Linked DNA regions of Homo sapiens: region 2 is linked to region 1. The links are contacts of gene promoters, found by promoter capture Hi-C in human tissues and cell types (Jung and others, 2019). All regions are on one chromosome and are shown on one strand. Each heading gives the region's core, a stretch centred on a gene start or on the middle of the fragment in contact. The rest is flanking DNA. Distances are from core to core; before and after follow the strand shown.

The links. The method cuts DNA at HindIII sites, captures the fragments that hold promoters and counts their contacts. A contact is called where the count stands out against the background at its distance.
Region 2: the fragment with the promoter of MCFD2 here is called in contact with the fragment with the promoter of FBXO11 in region 1 in 1 of the 25 tissues and cell types used here (hippocampus).

What each region holds. Positions count from the first base shown.
Region 1 is chr2:47,905,248-47,910,061 of GRCh38, reverse strand. FBXO11 (F-box protein 11) reads left to right here and starts at 3,564. Exons shown (of 23, transcript NM_001190274.2): 1 at 3,564-4,573. The coding sequence starts at 4,342. It overlaps LOC100506235 (a long non-coding RNA gene), which reads right to left and starts at 4,512. Exons shown (of 2, transcript NR_187636.1): 1 at 4,263-4,512; 2 at 1,895-2,744. RefSeq lists an enhancer at 2,618-3,402 and silencers at 3,472-3,571, 4,062-4,251, 4,612-4,731, 4,742-4,791. The HindIII fragment of the contact is 7,202 bases long and covers 1-4,814 here.
Region 2 is chr2:46,913,146-46,918,057 of GRCh38, reverse strand. MCFD2 (multiple coagulation factor deficiency 2, ER cargo receptor complex subunit) reads left to right here and starts at 2,252. Exons shown (of 4, transcript NM_139279.6): 1 at 2,252-2,335. It also overlaps a transcript of TTC7A not described here. RefSeq lists an enhancer at 1,208-2,182 and a silencer at 2,186-2,265. The HindIII fragment of the contact is 16,990 bases long and covers 1-4,912 here.

The DNA.
Region 1 (4,814 bases), core at 2,315-4,814:
ATTATAATTTAAGAATCACAGTAAATATCACCTGCCAGGTATTAAAATGATTAAAGAGCTTATTTTTTCCACACTGCTATTGTGATAGGTTTTATAAACAAATAATTTTAAGTACACTAACCTTTTAAGCACCAGTAATTAGCTGAGAAAAACAAACACAAATGTTCTTGAAGAGAGAGCAAACCCTGAGGGAATTCAGTCCTCTGAAATTATGCTAAGTATTACTGAAATAATTCTAGGTGGCTCCCACCCCTAAAAGAAATCCTTTTAAATTTTTCTCCTGTTTTCTAACATATATAACTTTTATGACAGCTAATTGACAGAATTATTTACTAATATAGGTGGATCTGCCTATGGATAAAACCTTCCAGGATATTTTGGGTTCTCACCAGAACTCAAAATACTGTCTACAATGCTTCTGAATGGAAAGGGCCCTGGATTGGCAGACAGTGGCTTTGCTACCAAATAGTTATAGTTTTGTCACCTCCCTTCTTTGGAGTTTAGTTTCCTAGTCTGTTGAATACAGAAATGAGATTTAATGATCTCCAAGGTCCGTCCTGACAACTCTTAAGTTCCACAATTGAGTTTGAACACTTTTACACAAAGATGACTTCAACATTTAATCCCTGAAATAAACTAAACATATGTAGAAACCAGTAATGTAGGGATAGGATAATATTTTTTAATATCTCCCAATAGGTGTTCCATTATTGTTAAACTGGGTTCTCTCTTGAGCACTTCATCAGCTATCACGGCTCCAAGAAAGGGAGCAGAAGAAATGCCAAATCTCAAAAATGAAGAGGATACGGTACAGAAGGAAAGTTCCTGACAAATGGGAAGGAGAAAAATCCATTCCTTAAAAACCCTGGGGCATGATGGAAAGAAGAAAAGGGTACAAGGAAGAGGTTAATCAGACTCAGTGTGCTTACTTTCCATCCCCTCTCAGGGTGGAAACTAGAATTGAGGGTATGTAGTTGACATATGCACAGAGACATAGGGAAATCCAAGAAAGTTGGAGATAGTGGTTTGCGTCCCTGGACATGTCTGTGAAACACTAAGACGTCTAGGAGTTCTACTTTCAGCCTGCCAGCATGTTCAATATGACATAAGGAGAAAAATGCAACATTGTTGGATAGTGGCTCAACAACTAGTAAGCCCAAAGCAAGGCTCCTGGCTCATCAAGGCCTACACGTGGTATTCGGGGAATCCAGAAGTACCCATGTGTCTCAGTGAGAACCATGAGGATCAAGGGACCTGTGGAGACTCGGGGTCAGTACAAAGAGGTTATAGTGTATGGGGCAAATGGCTCATGTATGGATTTCAGCAAAAGAAATCAGCCTCAAAAGTACAGAAATGACCAGTTTTATGAGTAATAAATGATAAACGACAGTGGCTGCCATCAGACAATACTAGCCACTCCACGCCAGAAGACAACATAAGGACTGGCATTAGTGGCTTAGATGCCCTTGTAAACCTCCCTATTCCTCAGGGATGCTACCACCCTACCAGTTACTCTGTGAATTTGAAAAAGGTGCTTCCTTTCTCAAGACACTTTACTACCATCTATCAGGAAATTGTCATAATATACTAATTTTGCTAAAACAAGGCATTTTACTGCCATATGTCAGAGAATTGTTGCAATAAACTTAGAAATCTAGGGTATGTAAAAGATACCCCTTATACCACATATAACAACCCTAAACCCCGCCCCTCCCATTAATATATTAGAAGGAGAGTTGGGGAAATAAAAGGTGAAAGCAGTTATGTTTTTTAAAAAATTGAGATGATGTGGGGACTTGAAGTTAAAATTACAGAAAATAAACAAGCTACATTTTCTTTACATCTGAATTAATGTAAGTAAAACTTCCACTCTGCCACACCAAAATACAAACTCTTTATGCCCAATATTTTCCTTTTATTAGTATTTCCCATAACACCTTATATACATATTAATGCATACACGGAAGGAGCCAAAAAGTACTTGTCAAATAAAAAAGTAAATTTTTAGAAAAATCAGAAATGATGGACACACTTATATGTATAACGTAATTTTCCTGTACTTTTACTTTTCCCCTATGTTTATTTGAACAAACCTAAAATTGTACCCATTTGCACCTAGCTAACCACCATAAAAATTTGGAGTTCTCCAGCTGTTTTGTAACAGCTGTCCTCCTCAAATATTTTTTTGAGAAACAAACATAGACCTACGTTTCTCTATTTTTCTGGACTAAAGAGAGATCATCTCAAAATCACAGAACTCTTAAAAATTGAAAACAGGATCATGTAGTCTAAAATAAGTTCTTATTTAAACTTGGGAGGTGAGGGGGGCGGGGCTGACATCTAGAAAGGTGAAGTACTTTGCCTGTAGTCACACACCAAGTCTGGGACTCAACACACAGGCTCGCCTCTTTGCGTCTCTCCCTCCTTCCAAAATACATTTTCCTCCCTCTCAAAAGCTTTATCACGCTTTGTAGTTGCTTAATTATCTATGTCAAACCTAGAGAGCAACTGATGACACTCAGAGACATCGCCCAAAGTTCTGAAAACCAGATAATCAGATAAACTGCCAGTTTTACCACATCCAAAAAATGCACAACAAAAGAGAGAAGGGGGAGAATCGAGAATACATTTTCAGCCGCAAGGCAATAAAAACACGTTTCCCTTGGAGAGAGATTATGTTGGGGGCATCAGGTATAAAGGTAATTCCTGTTGAGGGTTTTTCTTTTCCTTGCAGTTTGTGGGACCTAAAAAAAAAAAATTAAAAATTAAATCACATAAACAATCACAACATCAACACATTTACTTCTCTCCTCTCACATATTATTTTCCCACACATTGTATACACTTCTTCAAAGAACAAATCAAATTGGCCAAAGGTCAAAGCCTTTTCAAGGTTTAGATGATATACGATTAGGCACCGACTCCAAACTTCGCTTACCAAGCCCAAAGCTCGGAGACGGAAATCTTCAGGGTTTGCAAATACCCTCAGCTTGGCTAAAGGGCACGAAATCTCTAGCGCTCCCTACAGCTCAGATTTTGAACCCACCTACCACAGAAAACCCGAGTTACCAAAGATTGGCTCCCTCGTTCCACTTTTTTTTCAGCTCAAAAAAATCGGGTGAAGGTTGGGGTAGGGGGGAAGCTGAAACGGCGAACCGAAGGATTAATCACTTCTCCCCATTACATCAGCAACCCCCGCCCTTTCCTCCGAGCACCTCCTCTCCCAGAATCGTCGCTACGCACTGGCGCTCTCTTCGCCCACCCCCTGCTCTATTATTTGCCCTGATACCTCCCCATTATCACCCGCCCCGCCACACTCCCCCTTTCCTCTTTCCCCCTCCTAGGCGGGGGAGGGAGGAAACCCGAGAGAGGAAACAGGGCGTTGAAGGGACTTCGCGATAAGAGCGGAGGCCCCATTGGCCGGAAGGTTGTACGGGCGCCTTAGATTGGCCGCCTGGACGGAATCCCCGCCCCTCCTTTCCCCGCCCACCCACCCCTCCCCCCGCCGCCCCGCGGCCCTCCCCCGCGCCCCCGGCCAGCCCCGCGGCGGGGAGGGACCGACTGGGCGAGTGGAGGCTCCGGCGGTGTCAATGGCTCCTCCTGCCACGGAGCAGCAGCAGAAGCAGCGGCGACAGGGCTGACGAGGAGGAGGAGGAAAGGTTCCTTTAAGGAGGAGGAAGGACGACGCCTCTTTTTCCCCCTATCTCCTCCCTTCACACTCATTTCCCCTTCGCCGAGGAGAGAAGGGGGGGAGGAGAGAGAAGAGACCGAAGAAAGAGAGAAAAATTCCTCACAGAAATCTCTTTCAGGGGGTGTGGGGGGGAGGAAGAGGGAAAAAAAAGAGCCGGGCGCCCCCTGCTCCCTCCCTCCCTTCTCTCCCTCTCTTTTTCTCCCTTCCTCACCCGCCCGCCCACTCCCCCCGCTGCCGGAGACGCCGCTCGCGAGTCGGCGGGACCGGGATCTGTCTCTTCAGCCGCCGCCGCCGCCGCCGCCGCGCTTCGCCTCGGGATCCCCAAGCGGCGGACGCCCTTTCTTTCTTTCTCTCGGTCTGCCCGTCTTTCTGCCTTCGTCCCTCGCGGCCGCCCCGCCCGGCGGCTTCGGCCTTCCCCGTGCGTCAGGCCCTCCCGGCCGGCCTCGCTCGGTCTCCGTCTGTCTACCCGGGCCTTTCTCCGGACTCGGGGTCCCGCTCGCCCCCTCCGCCCTCAGCGTCTCCCCTTCCCCTCGCCCCCTCTCCTTCCTCCCCCCTCTCCCACTCTCCCCACCCCTTTCTCCTGCCCCGAAGCTCGCTGTGCGTGTGCGTGTGTGTGTCCCTCCGCCAACGCCGCCACCTCAGCCCGGCAAATGAACTCCGTCCGAGCCGCCAACCGGAGACCCAGGCGAGTGTCGCGGCCGCGCCCGGTGCAGCAACAGCAGCAGCAGCCCCCGCAGCAGCCGCCGCCGCAGCCGCCCCAGCAGCAGCCGCCCCAGCAGCAGCCTCCGCCGCCGCCGCAGCAGCAGCAGCAGCAGCAGCCTCCGCCGCCGCCACCGCCGCCTCCGCCGCTGCCTCAGGAGCGGAACAACGTCGGCGAGCGGGGTAAGGCCGCGCTACCTCCCAACCGCCCGCCTTCCCGGGCACCGCGGGAAGGGAGGCCGGGGCGGGCGGGCGGGCGGGCGGGCGGGGGCGGCCTGCGCGCCCTGGGGGTGGGAGACCCAAGCTGAGCGGAGGCGGGTCCCCCGGTGCCGCAGTGTCAGCCCGGGCCGGGCCCGGCCGGCAGGAAAAGCCGCGGCTTCCCTTCTCGCCTGGGCTCTCGCTCAGGCCGCGCTTTGTTTGGTTT
Region 2 (4,912 bases), core at 1,003-3,502, 990 kb after region 1:
TCAGAGAGACATATTTTGGAGTCATCTATTTATAAATGGTATCTAAAGCACAGGACTAGGTAAACTCACATAGGGAGGGTGGATAGAGAAGGTGACTCAGAACAGAACCCTGGACACTTTGATAATTATAGATTGAGAAGCCAATTAAGAAGCCCAAGAAAGGATAATGAGTGAGGTAGCAGAAGGACCCAGAGTGTGTGGTGTCAGAAAACAAGAGAAGAAAGTGTTTCTAAGTGAGAGTGGTTGGCTTTGATAAAACAGTGTTGAGAGGGCAAGTAAAATAAAAACAAGAGATCAAAGAGACCACTAGATTTGCATGGAGATTGCAGTTTCAGTGGTATGGTGGGGGAGAAAATACAGCAAGTTTATATGTTGATGGGAATTATCTGGTAGAGAGGGAGTGACTGTAGATTCAAGAGAGACATAACACAGGATAACATCCATAGGAAAAAAATGAAAGCACTGGCTAGAATGAGGACACTTTATCCATCTACCAGACACCAGCTTCTTGACACTTCATTTGTCTTATTTGTATCTCTAGTAGCTCCTAGTAGAGCGCCTAGTACATAGAAGATATTCAAGAAATGTTATTGAATGAATAAATGAACAAAGGGAGGGGTGGATGAATGGATGAAGAGATGGATGAATGGCAGATGCAGGGTAGAAGGAGGAACTAGATCAAACTAATCCAAAGTTCAGAGTAAGGAAAGAAGAATGGGTCTTGAATTAATAGGGTTTCCTCAAAACTTAGGGATTCTTTGTCCCGGCGCGGTGGCTCACCCCTGTAATCCCAGCACTTTGGGAGGCGGAGGTGGTGGGAGGATTGCTTGAACCCAGGAGTTCGAGACGAGCTGGGCACCATGGAGACTCTTTTCTTTAAAAAAAGAAAAAAAAATTAGGGATTATGGGATTTTTCTCTGGGATGGGGTGGCAGATTTCAATCTCAGATGAAGGTGGGAAAAGGAATGAGACCGTCAATGGCAGTGGCGTTAGGCAACTTTCAAGGCATCTAACTACTTAGCCACTTTCTTTGTCTTTCCTGTCCGGACCCAGGCTCATTTGAAAAACGATTATGTACCTTTATGGACAGAAATGGGAGAAGGGCTTTAAAAAAAACGACCGTCCTGCCGGGAGTGGTGGCTCACGCCTGTAATCCCAGCACTTTGGGAGGCTGAGGCGGGAGGATCAAGAGGTCAGCAGTTAGAGACCAGCCTGGCCAACACGGTGAAACCCCGTCTCTACTAAAAATACAAAAATTAGCCGGGCAAGGTGGCACGCGCCTGTAATCCCAGCTACTCGGGAGGCTGAGGTAGGAGAAGAGCTTGAACCTGGGAGGCGGAGGTTGCAGTGAGCCGAGATCCCACCACTGCACTCCAGCCTGGGACAGAGCGAGACTCCGTCTCAAAACAAAACAAAACAAAACAAAAAAACAAAACGACCGTCCTACACTCATTTATCCATCAGGTCAATGGATACTTACTGAATGTTAATCTTGTATAGGAGCACAGGTGTAAGGGCAGGATTATACAGGGATGAATTCGATACAGGGATGATGTATTCGTTTCCCTATTTGTTCATGAGTCTGTTTTTAAGTAATCTGTCCTCTCTTGAATGTCAAAAGCTGCTGATTTCACGAACGGTACATGGAAGATGGTATTTGAACTGGGTCGCATAGTCTTGCTGGGACTCCCGTGGAAGCGAACGGGGACAGCGGCTGCCGCAGCTTGTGCAGTGGAGCTGGCAGACGCTGGAAGCAGGCCAATCTTGAAACGTAGGGTCCAAGGCCGGCTCCAGCGTGTTGTGGTCGTTTCATCAAGAAGGAATTAGCATTCCTATTATCTTTCTTCCCAACTTGCAGCAGGACGAACCAAGAGACCTGAACCAAGAGCCCTGTATAGGAGGGGGTGAGCGGAGTTGGGAGCCAGCTTTGGGGTCCGCCCCATCCGGATCCGCCATCCTACGTCGCCCGTGGAACTACGTTCCTGAGGGCTTCCGGCGTTGCCTAGCAACTGCCGGGCCCCTAGGGCGTCCAGCGGCCCAACTGGAGTGGAGCCGAGTGTCGCCCTTGGGAAAGCAGGTAGAAGAACTGCGTCAGTCCCGCCAGTGCTGGGCCCGGGCCGATTACACGTGGACTCACGCGAGCCGTCCTCACAGCCCGCCGCCGCCAGCGGGAGGGGCCCGGCGGCGCCAATGGGCGGGCGGCAGGGAGCGCGCGTGCGCAGGGCAGGTCGGGGGGGGGGGGGGGGCGGGGCGAAGCCGAGGAAGAGCGTTTTGGGGACGGGGGCTGGTGAGGCTCACGTTGGAGGGCTTCGCGTCTGCTTCGGAGACCGTAAGGGTGAGTGAACTAGCGCACTCTCCGCAGCGGGCGGGATCCCGGCGCCTCTCCTGTGGGCTGGAGGCTTGGGCTCAAGATGAGAGGCAGGAGTAGTCTGGGGGCGCGGGCTGGGCCCCCAGGCCGTCTCGGGACGCTTAACCGGCTAGGAGCACGGCCTGTCTCCCGGGGCGGAAGCCTGTGCCCCACCGGGGGCTCTGGAGCCAGACGGGGCCGACTGGGCAGATCTCCGCCCCCTTCCCTGGTCCCTAGGGGCCCGAGGATCGGCCTGTGGGACCAGCTGTGTCGGGTGGACACTGCTCCTGGCCCGGCCCAAAAGCAGCGGGCCGGAAGCCTTACTCTCCCTCTGCTCCTTGTTCCCTCTCTCGGGGAGACCACAGGTCCTGTCGGGCCCGGCGGGGGAAGCTGATCTCCTGTTGTATTCCCTCTCTGGGCATGGCCATCCACCCGGGTGCCCAAGCCAGAATTGGGCATCATTCTCACTTGCTTCACTCCTTTACCCACCCACATCGAATCCCTTGCAAAGTTGTCTTGGATACGTTCATTCTCCAGTCCCATCCCCCTGCCCTACCTAGTTCAGGCCACCTTTTCTTCTCTGGACTACCTCGGTGTCTTCCTGATGATCCCTGCATCTCTTCTTCATCCTCTGTAGTTTGTTCTATACAGAGAGGCTACAGCCATGGTCTTAAAACAGAAATCTGATCATGTGACCAGAAGCGTCCCCCCATTCCCTTATCACCCTTTGGTGGATTCTCATTGCTCTTCCAAGCTCTTGAACGGGGCTTGCAAAGCCCTTCATGACCTGTCTTCCTTTAACTTTAGATTCATTTGTCTCGACTGTACTGTGTCTTCAACCATACTGAATCTTTTTTGGTTCTTAGATCAGAACAAGTTCCTTCTGGGCTTACATGTTCCTTCAGTATGTTCGCTATGTCTGAGGCACTGTCCTTTGGTTGAAATAATCCTTCTTATCCTTTATGTGTTATTTCAGGTGTCAGTTGGGGATTTCGTGGTACCCCATGGGTGTCTGCCTGCCGGTCTCTCTTTTCTACCAGGTTGTAATCTGTGTGAGAGGAGTTTGTCGAGGTCATAGTACTATCTTCAGTACCTTGTGCTGTTAGTACGGTCATTAAATGTATAAATGCAGCATGGGTGCTCCTTGGGCTCCCTAGATGAACAAATAGATCAAGTTATTAATATTAAATGCCTGCTTTTTCAGAACCAATTCTCAACCCTCAGTCCGTGTAGAGGTTTCTTTAGCTTAGGAAGTTGGTTATTTTCTTGCCTTCATTCCAGGACCATGACAGGGGTAAGTGACAAAGTACTGGTCAGTTTTTCTTTGGCATTGGCTGTGGGTACAGGATGTCTGGATGTTGGTGAGTTTGGCTGCTTTGGGTTTGAATTCTTAACCAAGGGCCCCTTGAGGGAGAAGCTGCTACTAGCTGCTGGCAGGAAGGCTGGCCCCAAACTTAGTGCTGATAGGACTGATGACACACCAGGAAGAAAGGGTTGGGCCAGGTCAAACCACTGGAAGCCTCCAAAGGAAGTTCCAGCTTAGGCTAGATCCGCTGTGGGATAGGGAACAATACACCTAGGTGCCAAGACTCACTTCCCTGATTCAGCGATGAGCCAGGTCAGCTCAGCAGAGATCAGTAAGGTAAATGAGAGCCAGAGGAGAGAGGGTCCTGACTCTCAGAGAGGGAGGAAAAGAGAAAAATGGAAAAGGAGAACAACCTGTGATCGTATGTTCAGGTCAAATGAGTGTGAGAGGCTACAGACTGAGGTCGGATGAGAGAGCAATTGGTCTTGGCTGGAAGAATCCTGAGGTGACATTTGAACCTGTCCTGGAAGGAAGTTGGAGATGGACAGATGGAACCAGTAGGAGCGGAGGCTGTGGTACAGGAAGAGGCTGGCAGAGCAGGAGGGGAGCACTGTGACAGCCAAGGCACTGGGAGGCGCACTGCTCCTGATGGTCCAGCACTGCCCTCCCAGGACTGAGGCTGCGCCTTGTGAGGGCTGTCTCAAGGTATGGGTTGTGCCCTGAAGTCCCTTTGCAGAAATTTCTCCTCCGTTGGGTTTTTCTTCAGCCTGGCCTTTATAATTTCCTAAAGAAGGCCAGTGAGCTGGGGCTTATCTTCAGGCTGTTAGCCCATGGCCTTGAGCTAAGTAGTTAGAGCATGGATGATGCAACCTGTTATTTGGGTAGAGGGAGTTGCTTATGCTTTCTCTTGACTGTCAGCAGTTTAATTTGTTAGGTGGCAGTTAGATTCCCTGTTTTCTATCTTTCCCTCCCTCGCCTGCCTTCTTTCCTTTCTTCCTCTCTCTCTCTCTCTTTTTCTAATTAGAGAGGGAGTCTCACCATGTTGTCCAGGCTGGTCTTGAACTCCTGGGCTCAAGTGATTCACTTGCCTCAGCCTCTCAAAGTATTGAGATTACAGGCATAAGCCACCATGCCCAGCCCGATTCCCTGTTTTCAGTGTACCACTTGGAGGAATTTTTTTTCTTTATGTTTATCGATTTGGCTTTTGTTGCATTCCAATGATTAGAAACCTGCAACAGCAAACCAAAATGAGACAAGTT